Regions from separate parts of the Homo sapiens genome. Here region 2 is linked to region 1. Evidence: promoter capture Hi-C in human tissues and cell types (Jung and others, 2019). All regions are on one chromosome and are shown on one strand. The core of a region is centred on a gene start or on the middle of the fragment in contact, and the rest is flanking DNA. Distances in the headings are between cores, read along the strand shown.

Region 1 (2,842 bases), core at 343-2,842:
ATTCAAGGTCAGCTTGGGCAATACGGTGAAACCCCATCTTTACAAAAAATACAAAAATTAGCCGGGCATGGTGGTGCATGTCTGTAGTCCCAGGTACTCGGGAGGCTGAGGTGGGAGGATAGCTTAAATCCGGGAAGCAGAGATTGCAGTGAGTTGAGACTGCGTCACTCCAGCCTGGGCGACAGAGCAAGACCCTGTCTCAAAAAAAAAAAAAAAAAAAAAAAGACATCCTCTCAAGGAGGCCTGTGGTCATCCTAGTGAAAATTTCACATACACAGACCACTCCTTCCTCCCCCACACACCCACGCTTTATCTCTCCCTTCTGAGTTTAATGTTTTTCTTCTTACCACCTATCACAAAGTAAGTTATGAAGCATAATAATAAACTATATCCTCTTGATCTCACAACCCAGCCTAAAAATTAAAAGATTATCAGAGTTCAAGATCACCTTGGGCAACAAAGCAAGACTCCATGTCTGCAAAAAATACAAAAATTAGCCGGGCGTGGTGATGGATGCCTGTAGTCCCAGTTATTCGGGAGGCTGAAGCAGGAGGATTGCTTTATTTAGCCCAAGAGTTAGAGGCTGCAGTGAGCCATGATAATGCCACTACTTTTGAACAACAAAAGACCTATTAGCATTATAAAAATAGACTGCATTTGATTCCTTCACAGTAGCTGGATATTCTCCTTTTGCCCATGTCGTCATGTTGGGGCAATGAGAAACAACACACATGGCGATCTGGTGGATGCTTAAATCTAAACTGAGGCACTTTGTCACACTGGGTACATTTGTTTAGTAATTGCCTATTAAATGGTTTCTCCCTAAGAACATCACAATTTATCTTTACTTATTTATTTAACATTATTGATTGAATCTGCCATGCTTATCTGAGAAACATACATTTCTCCCGGAAATAAAAACCTTGCCAAAAATCACACAGGGGACCTTCAACTTCACCTTCATCAAACTAGTCTGAATTTCCTGTAAGCTGAGGAGAGATTTTCCCCACTGGGGCTCAGAGAAGGGGAGTCAGAGAACTCAGAAGGCCTGAAAGACTGAAAAGACTGGAGATCTCTAGAGGGTTCCAAGAAACTTGGGGGGAATTAAGCATTTCACGTAGGAACAGCACGTTATTGGGAGTTTACCTACAGAGATAAATATTTTTTCTTTGGCAGATCGTTCCACAAGGCCATGGATGGAATTCCTAGGGAGTTCCCTTGCAATTAAAAAAAAAAAAATCTAGCTTATTTATATTCGACCACTCCCTAGACCCATCTACAGTCTCTCAAGTCCCCACCTAGAACAGCACGCAGCCGATTCAGGACCCAGTAAGCAGCACTTCCGCGCCTACCCTATCCCTTCCTGGAGCACATCCGGGACTCGGCGAGGCGTGGTCTCGGGAGGCGGAGTCTGACGCAAGCCGGCCCAGCCCACCTGGCTAAATTCACAGTCGCGCTCGCTCCTTCCGCCCGCCAGAGGTCGCAGGCTGCGAGAGCAGGTTCCTGGTTTGGCAAGCACTCGCCCCCTCAGGCCCGTTCATTCTCGCGAGAGAAAGCGCGAGGCCTGCCGGGAGTGAGCGCGGCCGTACTTAGGTTTGCTCAAAATGGCAGCGCTGGAGGAAGAATTCACGTTGTCTTCGGTAGTCCTGAGCGCCGGGCCTGAAGGACTCCTAGGCGTGGAGCAGAGCGACAAAACAGACCAGTTTCTAGTGACAGACAGCGGCAGGACAGTCATCCTCTATAAGGTGAAGGCAATAGGTTTGGGAGCGCCCCGACTGCCTTCTCGCCCCTTTCTGAGCGCGGAGCTCGAGCTCAAGTTTCTCACAGCTTCAGAAAGAGATCGTGGAGAAGGCTTAGCAGAGAGCCGGCTGGGCCTGTTGGGGACGCTGAGTGAGGTCTGGAATCTGGCTTGCTTGCCTTCCTGTAAAGGCATATTTCCGACTTGCAGGGGCAGAGCGTCTGAGTGCACGTGGGTTAGACTCGGAAAAGAAAGAAAACCTGTGCTTTTGCTTCGGAACTCGCGGAATTGGCCTTGCTAAGATTCCCTCCTAGGGTCTTTATTATCTTAGCCGCCCGCGGGAGGATGGAACGGAGATTGGTTGGGCGGGAGAGGATGACACTGACAGAGTGGGAATAGTGGTTTAGCCGTGTCTACACTTCACACCCCTCTCTTTGTAGGGGCGGGGACAATTTTAGAGAGTGAGGGACTTTCTTGATAGCTCGCTAAGAATCTTGCCTCCAAGTGAGTTGTCTGTTGGCATCTCTGATTCACGCTGGGAATCCTGGAGTTGAGTCCTGGGAAAATCTGCAAGCCCTGCCCCCATTTCAGCCTAAAGCCTGATAGAGAACACTTTCTAACCTTGCTTTTGGTGGTCGCATAGAAAGCAGTTACTTTTCTCTGGGCTGCTGAACATAGTTTTCCATGTTTTAAAGAAGTTAGGTATCTGCTTTGACGTTTTGAGAACAGGTTGCTAACAGCTCCCTGTGCCGTTTTGACTCTGCTAACTCTATTGGGTTTCACTTGGGATGTCAAGTAGATTTGCAGTTTTGCAGCTCCTGCATAGGAATACAATGGCAGATTGGAATTGGATAGACATGATCCCAGATGTCCCTACTTAATTTCCCATGCCGCTGTTCAGAGGCATAACTTCCCATGCAGAGGCATAATATAATCAATTTTTAAATGTACTATTGTTTTTTTAACAAAGGGTTGCTTATTTACTTATTTAGGAACTTAGTTATATTTTCATTTTAACTACCCTTTTAGAGGTTTGGCCGGACGCGGTGGTTCACGCCTGTAATCCCAGAACTTCGGGAGGCCCAGGTGGGTGGATCACTTGAG
Region 2 (2,842 bases), core at 202-2,701, 58 kb after region 1:
GAGATGGAGTCTCGCTCTGTCGCCCAGGCTGAAGTGCAGTGGCACAATCTCGGCTCACTGCAAGCTCTGCCTCCTGGGTTCACGCCATTCTCCTGCCTCAGCCTCCCGAGTAGCTGGGACTACCTACAGGCTCCCGCCACCACGCCCGGCTAATTTTTTGTATTTTTAGTAGAGACAGCGTTTCACTGTGTTAGCCAGGATGGTCTCGATCTCCTGACCTCGTGATCCGCCCGCCTCTGCCTCCCAAAGTGCTGGGATTACAGGCGTGAGCCACCGCGCCTGGCCTAATTTTTGTATTTTTAGTAGAGATGGGGTTTCACCATTTTGGTCTTTTTTTTTCTTCTTTTTTTTGAGACAGGGTCTCGCTCTGTCACCCAGGCTGGAGTGCAGTAGTGAAATTATGCCTCACTGCAGCCTTGACCTCCTGGGCGCAAGTGATCCTCCCACCTCAGCCCCCCAAGTAGCTGGGACCACAGGCTGGCACCACCACACCCGGCTAATTTTTGTGTTTTTTGTAGAGATGGGGTTTTGCCAGGTTGCTCAGGCTGGTTTTGAACTCCTGGGTTCAAGCGACCTGTTCACCTCGACCTCCCAAAATAGTAGGATTACAGGCATGAGCCGCTGCACCTGGTCTAGACCCATCTTCAGTGGCAGTCTGAGTGCTGTGTTCTTCAGTAGGGACCTACTTAACAGGGACAGAGAGCACCTGCACACCTTCAGACAAGTCTGCAACCTCGGATGGCAGTTCATTTGCTCTTAAGGTCCTTCTTGGTCACTGCCTTTCAGCAGTGACCTGTTCTTTTTCAGTATTGTCAACCCAAAATATCTGAGACAGGTCTCAGTCAACTTAGAAAGTTTGTTTGTTTTTGTTTTTTTTTTTTTTTTTGAGACAGTCTCACTCTGTTGCTCAGGCTGGAGTGCAGTGGTGCAATCTTGTCTCACTGTAGACTCTGCCTCCAGGTTTCCAGCAATTCTCCTGCCTCAGCCTCCTGAGTAGCTGGGATTACAGGCGCCCACCAAAACGCCTGGCTAATTTTTGTATTTTTAGTAGAGACAGAGTTTCACCATTTTGGCCAGGCTGGTCTTGAACTCCTGACCTCAGGTGATCTGCCCACCTCGGCCTCCCAAAGCGCTAGCATTACAGGCGTGAGCCACCGTGCCTGGCCTAGAAAGTTTATTTTGCCAAAGTTAAGAACATGCTGTGACATAGCCTCAGGAGGTCCTGATGACATGTAGGTGGTCGGGGTACAGCTTGCTTTTATAAATTTTAGGGAGACATGAGACATCAATCAATACATGTAAGATTTACACTGGTTTGATCTGGAAGGGTAGGACAACGCAAAGGGTGGGACAACTCAAAGGGTGAGGGGTGCTTTCAGGTAATAAGTAGACTTAAAAATGTTCTGATTGGCAATTGGTTGAAAGTTATTATCAGTAGAAAGGAATGTCTGGGTTAGAATAAGAGGTTGTGGACCCCTGGACACCTAGGTTATTTCATACAGATGAAGCCTCCAAGTAGCAGGCTTTAGACAGAATACAGATATTTCTTATGAGACTTAAGGTCTGTGTTGGTGTTAATGCTGGAAGGGTATAAGGAGCCATGTCCAACCCCCCTCTTCCATCATGACCTGAACTGGATTTTCAGGTAACTCTGGAATGCCCATGGCCAAGAGGACGGGTCCATTCAGATGGTTGGGAGGCCTTAGAATTTTATTTTTGGTTTAAAATATCTTTTTTTTTTTTGAAGACCAAGTCTTGCTCTGTCACCCAGGCTGGAGGGTAGCGTCACCATCTCGGCTCACTGCAACCTCTGCCTCCTGTTTTCAAGGGATTCTCCCACCTCAGCCTCCCTAGTAGCTGGGACTACAAGTGCATGCCACCACACCTGGCTAATTTTTGTATTTTTGGTAGAGATGGGGTTTTGCCATGTTAGCCAGGCTAGTCTCGAACTCCTGACCTCAAGTGATCCACCCGCCTTGACCTCCCAAAGTGTTGGGATTACAGGCGTGAGCCACTGTGCCCAGCCTATAATATCTTTAGAATCTCTGCAGAAGTAGAGCTCAGGCATGAGATCCTATGGTGATCACAGGAGATGGTGTTACACATGTACAGAACTTCCCTGCCAGCACCCACCACAGCAGACCCACTCAGGAGCTCCTTTCTCGTTGCTTGGGATGGCAGTGTCCACGCAGTGTCAAGGAGAATCTTTGTGACCAAGAGCCATGGTAGGCCGGTTACCATGAAACACTTCTGTGACAGGCTGGTGGTCAGCCCCAGGATCAGTAACCATCAGAAGACGTGGCTCCCAGGCCGGGCGCGGTGGCTCACGCCTGTAATCCCAGCACTTTGGGAGGCCGAGATGGGTGGATCACGAGGTCAGGAGATCGAGACCAACCTGGCTAACATGGTGAAACCCCGTCTCTACTAAAAATACAAAAAATTAGCCAGGTGTGGTGGCGGGTGCCTGTAGTCCCACCTACTCGGGAGGCTGAGGCAGGAGAATGGCGTGAACCCGGGAGGTGGAGCTTGCAGTGAGCCGAGATCGCGCCCCTGCACTCCAGCCTGGGCAACCGAGCGAGACTCCATCTCAAAAAAAAAAAAAAAAGAAGACGTGGCTCCCAGAAGGCTGTCTGGATCTGGTTAGTGAAGGTTCCAAGAGTGAAGTGGCCAGCAGTGAGAGCGGCTTCAGTGGCAGCAGCAAACTTCAGCACAGCCCGCTGGCTAGTATTCCTGGAGGGTATGACACGGGAAACAGCTGGGTTTTCGAAGGCCACAGTGGCATGAGTGGCCGGCACAAGCTTCTCTCAGGTCATCTCCAGTTGTTTTTATTTGTTGTTTTGTT

What was found. The method cuts DNA at HindIII sites, captures the fragments that hold promoters and counts their contacts. A contact is called where the count stands out against the background at its distance.
Region 2: a contact is called between a fragment that was not itself captured here and the fragment with the promoter of NOL11 in region 1, in 1 of the 25 tissues and cell types used here (lymphoblastoid cells).

The regions. Positions count from the first base shown.
Region 1 is chr17:67,716,344-67,719,185 of GRCh38, forward strand. NOL11 (nucleolar protein 11) reads left to right here and starts at 1,593. Exons shown (of 18, transcript NM_015462.5): 1 at 1,593-1,745. The coding sequence starts at 1,605. LOC101928045 (a long non-coding RNA gene) reads right to left here and starts at 1,335. Exons shown (of 4, transcript NR_188294.1): 1 at 1,299-1,335. RefSeq lists enhancers at 1,504-1,583, 1,654-1,843, 2,766-2,842 and a silencer at 2,114-2,203. The HindIII fragment of the contact is 26,229 bases long and covers 1-2,842 here.
Region 2 is chr17:67,774,029-67,776,870 of GRCh38, forward strand. It overlaps the pseudogene RPSAP67. Among named protein-coding and RNA genes, the nearest start is that of SNORA38B, 35 kb to the left of the region's middle. The HindIII fragment of the contact is 7,192 bases long and covers 1-2,842 here.